Linked DNA regions of Homo sapiens: all the other regions are linked to region 2. The links are contacts of gene promoters, found by promoter capture Hi-C in human tissues and cell types (Jung and others, 2019). All regions are on one chromosome and are shown on one strand. The core of a region is centred on a gene start or on the middle of the fragment in contact, and the rest is flanking DNA. Distances in the headings are between cores, read along the strand shown.

Region 1 (3,394 bases), core at 212-2,711, 160 kb before region 2:
AGACTTTCTTCTCAGAATTGTCATTTTGATCTTAATCCTAGTGACTGACCACTCCCTGTTTTATGTATTTAAGTACCCCTAAACACCCTGTGGGAAAATGCCTTGTTCTCAGGAATGTTTGTTAAGACTGGATGTCAACTACATTTCTGAAAATCTTGGGAGTATCAAACCATGCTCAGAATCATCATAGTTTTTGGCTTTCAGTCTTACTTTTCTCTCCACTGTTAAATGCTGAGTCCTGAGCAAGGACAGGGAGCGGGGGATAGATATTTAGTGCCCCTGGGGAGGGAGGTGGCTTAGGTCATGGTCCTGAGACCAGATCAAAGGTGTTGTAGCTATATTTGTAAGCACTTGGAAAAATTGAGATTTATAGTTCAATAATAGGAGATCTTTAACGTAAGTTAAACAGAAAGTTAAGAAGATATTTGAAATCAATGATCGTGTATAACTTAGAGTCCAGGTTTCTTTTATTAATGTGTAATATGGCAACTAGTGATATCTGTGCTCACAAGCTCACAGGGTGATTACAAGAAATATATGAGAAGACGTTCTTGAAAATACTATGATAATTCTTAATTGCTTTTCCCCCTCTTCTTCTTCTTTTTTTTTTTTTTTTTTTTTTGAGACAGTCTTGCTCTGTCACCCAGGCTGCAGTGCAGTTGTGTGATCTTGGCTCATTGTAACCTCCACCTCCAGGGTTCAAGCGATTCTCCCACCTTAGCCTCCTGACTATCTGGGACTACAGGCACACATCACCACACCCAGCTAATCTTTGTATGTTTAGTAGAGACAGGGTTTTACCATGTTGGCCAGGCTGGTCTCGAACTCCTGACCTCAAGTGATCTGCCCACCACAGCCTCCCAAAGTGCTGGGATTATAGGCGTGAGCCCCCGCACCTGGCCCTTTGCCTCTCTTCTAAAGCCATCTTTCCAACCCTATTCCCTGCACATTCAGCAAAAGATCTTACCTTTAAAATAATAATAATAATAATAATTGTGGGACTCAAGCACAAATTATCTTAATTTCTAAGCTGGGCCTGCAGATTTTCTCTAAATCTGTACCTCTTCATTCCTCCTGTTATTTAGATCCCTTAGACATGTGTGCTGTTGATCCCTCGTACTTGTTTTCTTCAGGACTTTACGCCGTGAAGTGACCTGTTCTCCCCCTATATCTCTCTATATCTTTAGTCTCCAACTCTTTAGTGACTTTTTCCTCAGCCTGTAACATTTTCCTTCATCCTGCATTTGCCTTTAACTCCTCTCTTACATCTCTCTTTTTTACTTAGCCAAGCTTTTAGTGTCCGCATAAGCTTCCATTCACCAGGGCCATTTTAAGGTCTTCACTGTCCCAGCGTACTCTGTGTTGGAGGTCTTACCCTGGATCACTAGAACCTATAAAATGGATCTACATCACTGATTAAATAGGGTTAATTATTTTGAAAAGATTTGTGGCTTTTGCTTTTGAAGTGATTTGGATTGAGTAAGTCACTTATGATTGATTATGACTTCTTGGCAATCATTATGCTTGCTAAGGAATTCATGTGAAGTAAAAAAGAAACATCCCTAACCTAGAAATTGTTTCCGAGTGGAATGAAATGTTTCTGAGTGCCAGGTTTATCAATTAGTAATGTTAATTTATTAATTTTAAATTTAATTATTTTAAGTTTAATTTAAATGTTCAGGTCTCAGGCATTTTTGTAGACCTTTGAAAGCTTATAGGCATAGGCACTTAAGGTTCTTCCTAATGGCACAACTAGCTTCAGTCCCTCCTTCTTTACTGAAATTGCTCTGGCAAAAGCCACTAGCGACCTCTGTAAAACCAAATCCAGTCCACTTGTCAGCATTTGTCATGCTGAACCTTTTTCTGTTTTACACCGTCGATCATACCTTCCCTTCTGGAAACTCCTTATCCTAAGGATTCCATGTTCTTTTTTGTTTATTTGTTTTTCTTACTCTCCTCTGACCCTTCCTTCTTAGGGTTCATCATAGAATCAGTCTCCTTCTCTTCCCCTTAAACTTGGTCGTCTCCCTTTGGTTTAGAACTTTTTTTACATGCCCGTTCTAAATGATAATTTCCAGCCCCTGTGTCAGGTCTGGCCTTTCTTGAGAGCCTTAGGCCTGCATATTCAGCTGTTTCTGGACACAGGCACCTGAGTGTCCAAACAGGAATCTCACACTGAACTCCTTCTTTGCTTGTTTATCTGTGTTATTTATCTCAGTTAATGGGAAACTTATCCCTATTCAAACAAGCCAAAAACCTGGAATTCTCCTTTTTCTTGAAAAATTGGTAAACATTTTCCCAGTACGAAGTGGAGCATTGCTTCACAGGCAGTATATAGAAGCAACATCATTTTTTTTAGAAATATAATTTTAATTTTAACATTCGTTGTAGCTACTAAATTACTGTTTCACCTCCATGCTAAATGTAACTGGAGGCTAGTGATTGCATATTCCAATATAGGATTATCGAAGACTTTCTTGTAACAAGGAAAATAAATAGAAAAGGAAGCCAAAATCATTTGAAAACCCTTCACTTTTGACTATATTACATGTATATATATTTGTAATTCTCAACACATGTCGAGAATAAGACTTTAATCGTTCTAATGCCTGTGTGAGTCTAGTCTCATTATTTGAATGTGGTGACCACTGATTGGAAAGGTCAGAAAAGGTGCATTTTTGGTGGATTTTTACTCCATGTGATATGAGTTAAATTTATCCTCTGAAGAATTTTAAATCTGATTGGATTGATGATATTTTTAGTGTCAGAAAACCATTTTAACAAGAAGAAAAAGATTTCAGATATAAGACCAACAGTAACCTGTTTAATTTTTAGGACTGATAACTATACAGATACTACCTTTAGATTCTCTGGATGGCTAATATTTGCAACACAAGCTTTTTAAATATAAGTTTTTAATTTGTTGCCCATTGTTATATTTAGGTTTGTAAATTTTTCAAATTTAATTTTAAAATTGTTTATATGGTGGGTGTTATATCAAAACTGATGATATGGTGGATATTTTAGAAAATGTAAGTTTCATATTTCTATTTGAAATTCATGTTGCTATTTACCAAATATAATAGAAGCTTTAAGACCTTTACCTCTGTAGTAGCTCATTACATTTCACAGAATAACTAATGAAGATCTAAGAAGTGATATATAACATAGCATTGGAAATTGTTTAGTATGGTTTATGTTAAATAAAAACTTCAACTTTTATGAAGAATATCAGAACTCCCTTCAGCTGGTGGACAATATAGTCTATCAAAATACATCTTGATTCTTTCTAAACTTCACTCAAGATAATACTAAAGTTAAAATGTTTCATAGTAGATTATTTCTATTCTTCCATGAATGTTATCATCGTAGATTTTAGCATATTATCTTTTTC
Region 2 (3,179 bases), core at 643-3,142:
GCACCCAACAATTTTATTTCTCTCTCTCACTTTCTTTGTTTTTGGTTTTTTCCCCAAAGACAGGGTCTCACCCTTGGCCAGACTGGAGTGCAGTGGCGTGATCATAACTCACTGCAGTCTGGAACTCCTGGGCACACGGAGTAGCTAGGACTACAGGTTTTTGCCACCACGTCTGGCTAGTTTTTTATTTTTATTTTTTTAATGTTTAGTATAGACAGGGGTCTCCGTATGTTGCCCAGGCTGGTCTGAAACTCCTGACCTCAAGCCATCCTCCTGCCTATGTCTCTGTCTCTCAAAGTGTTAGGATTACAGGTGTGAGCCACAGCGCCCAGCTTCTCTCTTCGATTAAAAATAAAAACAAATTTCTGTCTGTTAGTTGAAGGCTCAATATTTGCACGTCAGTCGTTTCTTCCCATTCAGTCTACCCGGGAATATTAAAAGGAAAAATAACTATAATTTCTGATAAATTTAAAAGATAAAATATTTTATGTATAATAGCTATCGTTCAAAATCTCTCCAAGATCTGTGTGCATACTTTTCTTATTGTTGTAACTATATTGAATTTAACTTTTTCTTTAACTACCAAGGACTCCAGATTCACCGTCAACTTTCTTCCTGCATTCACTCTTACTGTTCAGTTCTGGGTTAAAAGACAGCGGGGCCTGAACGAAGTGTCTACAAAGCACAGTATTTGGAGAAGCTTTGTTGTTGTTTTTTAAAATAATTTTTTTAAAAAGGGATCCCGGATATCTTTTTTGTTTTTTTAAAAAATCTTTTTCTCATGTACGAGAAATACAGGGAAAAAAAGCAATCAGGTTAATGAATCATTCTGGTTTACTGGATTCCAATTGGTAGAGAATTTAAACTTAAAAACCAAACAAAACGAAAGAGCTCTTCAGTTACCTTATGTCGTAAACGAGTTAAAAGTTTTGTTATTTCTGAAAAATCAAAGAGCACTATCTGTACATGGTCATAACTGCAAAGGAAACAACGGCGTACCCAGGACAGGGGGAGCTTACTTTAAGAAGCTGCGTCTTTCTGGATCATGTTCCTTCGGGGCTGACCCTTTCGGGGAGTTTGGCTTTTAAAGCGCGGATCTCGCGACGCGCGGCTTGCAGGACTGCGGGGCCCGGCGGCCGAGACGCGGCATCCACAGGGGCCCCTCCGCGCGGCCGCGGCGGTGGTGGCGGGAACCTGGGACTGGCCGGCGAGGGGCCCCGCATGGTAACCGTCCCCGACCGCAAGTCATAGGCTGTGGGCACCGCGCAGAGCGCACCCCCCACCGAACTCCCCCCACCCCACCTCAATTCTCGAGACCGAAAGTGCGGAGCGCGGAGTCCTGCAAACTTGACCCCGAGCCAAGGTGCGCGAGGCGACGGCGAGTGTCCCCCGGGCTCCCTGCAGCCCCGGGGCTGGAAGCTCCGGCCTCCGCGCACCTCGTCCTCTGCCCGCCCGAAAGCGAAACCTGGCCGGCGGGCAGGAGGGGAGAGCTCGGCCTCGAGCTCTGCCTGGCGGGGCCCCGGCCTGGAGGCATCCCCGACCCGCACCTGGCGGCGCGACCCACCTACCTGCCCGTCCCCAAGGCGCCGCCAGGAGCAACAGCAGCAGCGGCGGCAGCGGCAGCGGCCGCAGGGCCGGGCGGCCGGGAGCCCGCATGGGCGGCGGGGCTGGGTCACATGTCGGGGGGCAGCAGACTGCTCAGTCCCACGCCCGCTGGGGCCAAGCGCGGCCGCGCGGCCTCAGCTCCGCGCCTGGGGCTCTGCGTGCCACGCTCCAGGCGACCTGAGTCCCAGGGCGCCTCCGCCACAGCCGCGTCCCCCAGGCTTCCCCAGAAACCAAGGGCGAGCGACTCGCGGAGCCCCCACGCGCGCTCCCCCGGCTACCCAGCTGGATGGCAGCGCGAGGGCAGTTCTCGCGGATTTATAGTCCCCAGCCACTCGGCTGTCAGTCCTGAGAGTCTGAGAGTTTCCACCTCTCGGGGTTCATGCCCAGACCAACCAGGTCACTAGGCAGGTAAAACCTCCTTCTGGTAATGAGCGAGGCGAGTGCATTGCAAAGAGATTCTGGTATTCAGGCCGGTCTGATGGTCAGTTAAAGTTCAATATCGGAAGACGGATGAAATAGAGCGTTATTTCTCGATATACAGTTAGGCACTCAGCCGTAGATCTTACAGTCATGCATCATTTAAGATGACAGGATTACCTCCTGAGAAATGTCTTAGGCGAGTTTCTTGTGTGAACATCTTAGAGTGTACTCACACCTATATGGTATAGCCTCTTACACGCCTACGCTATATGGTACAGGCTGTTGTTTGCTCCTAGGCTACAAACCTGTACGGCAAGTGACCATACTGAATACTGCAAGCAATTGTAACACAATGGTAAATATTTGTGTATCTAAACATGTCTGAACGTAGAAAAGGTACAGCAAAAGTACAGTATGAAAGATTTTAAAAATGGTACACCTGTATAGGGCACTTTCCATGAATGGAGCTTGCAGGACTGGAAGTCGCTCTGGCTGAGTCTGTGAGTGGTGAGTCAATGTGAAGGCCTAGGACATCACTGTGTACTACTATAGGCTGTATAAACACTGTATTACACTTAGGCTATGCTAAATTTATTAAAAAATTATTTCTTCAATAATAATAAATTAACCTTAGCTTACTATGATTTTTTACTTTCTACTTTTAAATCTTTTAAACTTTATTTATTTATTTATTTTTGAGATGGAGCATTGCTCTGTAGCCCAGGCTGGAGTGCAGTGGTGCGATCTCGGCTCACTGCAACCTCTGCCTTCCGGTTTTGATGATTGTCCTGTCTCACCCTCCAGAGTAGCTGGGATTACATGTGTGTGCCCCCACGCCCGGCTAATTTGTTTGTATTTTTAGTACAGACTGGGTTTCGCCATGTTGGCCAGGCCGGTCTCGAGCTCCTGACCTCCGGTGATCTACCCTCCTTGGCCTCCCAAAGTGCTGGGATTACAGGCGTGAACCACGACACCCGACCTAAACTTTTTGACTTGTAATAACGTTTGACTTAAAACACAAACACATTGTGCAGCAGTATGAAAATATTTTTTCTTTGTATTCTTTCTATAAGCTTTTTCTATTTTTAAATTTTTCTTTTTCTTTATTTTTTCTTTACTTTTTAAACTTTTTTGTTATAAACTAAGGCACAACC
Region 3 (3,196 bases), core at 57-2,556, 250 kb after region 2:
GGGCTGTGTCACGGGCCACAGTCAGTCATGTTTGGCTCAGAATAAATTTCTTCAGAATACAGAATACAGAATAATATTCTTCTGTAATAAATTTTACAGAGTTTGACTCTTTTCATGGACACTATGAGCCAAGTATCTCTAATATTCAAGGAGTACGCAAAGGCCTCTGTGGCATGATGGTCAATCCTATGGAAAATGAACATCTTGCCTTAACTAGAAGTATAGAATGTGCTGATTAGGGCTATGGGCTCTGAAGTCAGGCTTCCCAGTTTGAGCTCTCTGCCAGATTTAGCTGTGTGACCTAGGGCTTTGTCATTTGAAAAATGACTATAAGAATAGTACCTGTTCATGAGGTTGAGAGGAGAAGGTGAGGATTAAATGATTTCAACCTTGTTATGTGTGCAGCCCAGGGCTTTCAGCATAGCAAGCATTTTATACATATTAGGCCTCGCCAGTTTCACTGAGAGTTTTGAAGAGGAATAAACAAGTAACTTCTGATATTATCTAAAGCTGAAGCCCAGAAAAGCACACTTGTGAAGGGAAGTTTCACTGTGTAACATATATTCAGGTTACGTATTTTACAATTACACATGGGGATAAATTCATTGATCTAGGCAGATTTTAATAGGTCTAGCTGGAAGCTTCAGAAGTGCAGTGATGGAATTAATTAGATACTAAGTCCTTGATGAAATTTGAGAATTTCATTGAGTCCTTGATTTGAGAATTGAACGTATTCAAAAGCCTTGCCCACAAGCTTGTAATCCCTATGGAACCAACCAAACTCATCAAGAAATGAGTATGTTTTTAAAGTCCAATTTGTGATAAATAGCTCTTTTTCCATTTTCCTTGCTTTCTGCGAGACAGGGGTGAGAAGCTCTGCTGAAGGTATTTCCTTAATGAAAGTGTTTCTTTTATCACGGAAAGGAAATATTGAGTTATTCCTGACAATTCCCCCTAACTATGAGCTCTGTAGCTCTCTAAGGAAGGAATCCTGTAGCTTTTCCTGAGATGCAGGGTCTGCCCGGCAGGGAGAGTGAAATAGACTAAGTCTGCCGCTCAGCTGCCTTTGTCAAGGGCCAGACCCTGGCCTTGGGAACTGACTCGCGGCAGTTTGCAAATGTATGTGCTTGGTGGGAAGCCTGCAGTTCCCTTTATTCTTGAACCACAGGAAACCTGATAGGGAAGCCGTAGTGTGTCATCCCTGACTACCCCAGCTTCCAAACAGGAACATCATGAGTAACTTTTCAGACAATATCAAACATGAACATTCAGTGTTTAACCAATTCTTTCTCCAGATGCAAATAACAACTTGTTCTACATCCTTTCCTACAAACCTACTGTTTAAACAGCCAAGTAAAAGAACAGATCTTCCACTAGGTTTGAAGCCTGAGTTTTTTACAGGGAATGAATAAGAATTTCTAATTTTTCTACCTCCCTCACTGTTACCATCCAACTTTTATTTCTCTTTCCTGGTTTTCCTTAAACCCCTATGGAAAGCCAACAAATCAAAACTAATGAGAGCGTTCAGGACATGCTACCCCTAAATATAGGGGCACTTGGAATACTGAGTGTTTTAAGCTGAGGGAAACTGAGAACATTGTAGAAGCAGGAAGGCCTCCTGAAACTTCTCCCACCTTCTTTTCTGAAGCAGACTAGGAAAGTAGAAAGAATTTTCTTACCATCCCCTGAAGCAGGTCATAAGACCCTCATTTGAGATGTATCTTTTCTGTACCCAGAGGAAAGGAGTATCTTTATCTGTGAAGACACAGGGACTCTGAGAAAAATCTCAGCAATAGGCCTTGCTATGATTACCTTTAGATCACACCCATCTTGTCCTCTAATCATACTTCCCCATGACTGTTCGCTTTTCATTAAGCCTAAGCATAAAAATGCACAAGTTTACCTGTTTCTTTGATCTTCATATCCAAAGGCTCCTGTGTCACGTAAAGCTTCTATTAAATAAATTCATATGCATTTCTCTTGTTAATCTGTCTTTTGTTATAGGGGCTTCAGCCATGAACCTAAGATAGGAAGAAAAGATATTTCTTTTGCCCTATACTATTCTTTTTACTGGTATTCAGAATGACTAGGAATTAAAGACTTTTCCTATCAATTGTTTTCATATATGTACCTGCCTCTGTCTAAAAGCTTAGGAAATACACCTATGGAAAAGAGATAAATCTGTCTCCCGTCATGCTGTAGGATACATCTTTTACAACACAGATGACCCCCAGAAGAGTGATTTTTTATGCTCATTCTATACCTAGTTTGTTTTTAACTTAGTTGTGAGTGAAGCTCATTTCTTTTCCAAGCCCCACTGAGGTAGACATTACAAGTGTTCATCAATCTCTGGCTATTTTCTAATTCTGGGTGTATGGAGTGACACACTTTCCCACCCCCTTGAATTTAGGCTTGGCCACTTAGTTTTCTTAGGCCCATGAAGTGTGAATGGAAGTGACCTGTGTAGAAAGTGTTGGGAGGAAACTTTTCCTCTACCATTTTAGGCTTGGATTGTTGGGGCCCTGTGAGTTAATGGACAATAGGTAAACTAACAGGAGAAATGACAAGTTTATTAACCATGTCCATGTACACTGGGGAGTGCTTTAGTAACAAGTAAATCCCCTTTAGTAATGAGTAAATATGATAAATCTTTTCTTGATTATCTCTCTCATTCTAAAATATTCATTTTTAAAAGAGATGTTATTATCATGTAAATAACATGACTCATTTTCTTCAGGGATTCATGAAAGATGTCTGTCCAAAGCTAAAAGGTTATACACCAATTTATCCACTAGCAAGAAAAGGAGAGGGGGAGTTTAGGACTTCAGTGAGAAAGTATGGAAGGTTCTATTGGGCTTTTAAATGCTCATGGGAAGCTGAATTCATACTTCCTAATATTTAAAAGTCATTCTTCTGCCAAACAGGAAACTCCCTCGGAAGGACAGGGGTGGCCATTTCTCCTATTTCAGCTGTACTTTCTTGGGTGTATCTGCTTAAGTTTAGATAATGTTTCTTTCTGTGACTGATGACTGTTCACGTGTTGTTAGTTTAAAGTAATGTTAATCTCTTCAAAAGTATTTCATTGCTAGGGCGAGACTCTCTGAGCCCTGTCTCCCTGGAAATGATCATGGCAGCACATATTGTTACGTAGATGCTGAGCCATCACTGAGTGCACAGAGATCCTGGACAATCTCCT

The links. The method cuts DNA at HindIII sites, captures the fragments that hold promoters and counts their contacts. A contact is called where the count stands out against the background at its distance.
Region 1: a contact is called between a fragment that was not itself captured here and the fragment with the promoter of IL20RA in region 2, in 1 of the 25 tissues and cell types used here (thymus).
Region 3: a contact is called between a fragment that was not itself captured here and the fragment with the promoter of IL20RA in region 2, in 2 of the 25 tissues and cell types used here (aorta and hippocampus).

Annotation. Positions count from the first base shown.
Region 1 is chr6:136,881,576-136,884,969 of GRCh38, forward strand. All of the region lies in intron 8 of PEX7 (peroxisomal biogenesis factor 7), which reads left to right. Among named protein-coding and RNA genes, the nearest start is that of SLC35D3, 39 kb to the right of the region's middle. The HindIII fragment of the contact is 3,064 bases long and covers 1-2,993 here.
Region 2 is chr6:137,043,073-137,046,251 of GRCh38, forward strand. It overlaps IL20RA (interleukin 20 receptor subunit alpha), which reads right to left and starts at 1,893. Exons shown (of 7, transcript NM_014432.4): 1 at 1,569-1,893. The coding sequence starts at 1,656. RefSeq lists silencers at 1,386-1,435, 1,506-1,615, 1,646-1,705. The HindIII fragment of the contact is 8,751 bases long and covers 1-3,179 here.
Region 3 is chr6:137,296,953-137,300,148 of GRCh38, forward strand. No RefSeq gene overlaps it. Among named protein-coding and RNA genes, the nearest start is that of IFNGR1, 79 kb to the left of the region's middle. RefSeq lists an enhancer at 764-1,390. The HindIII fragment of the contact is 3,451 bases long and covers 1-3,032 here.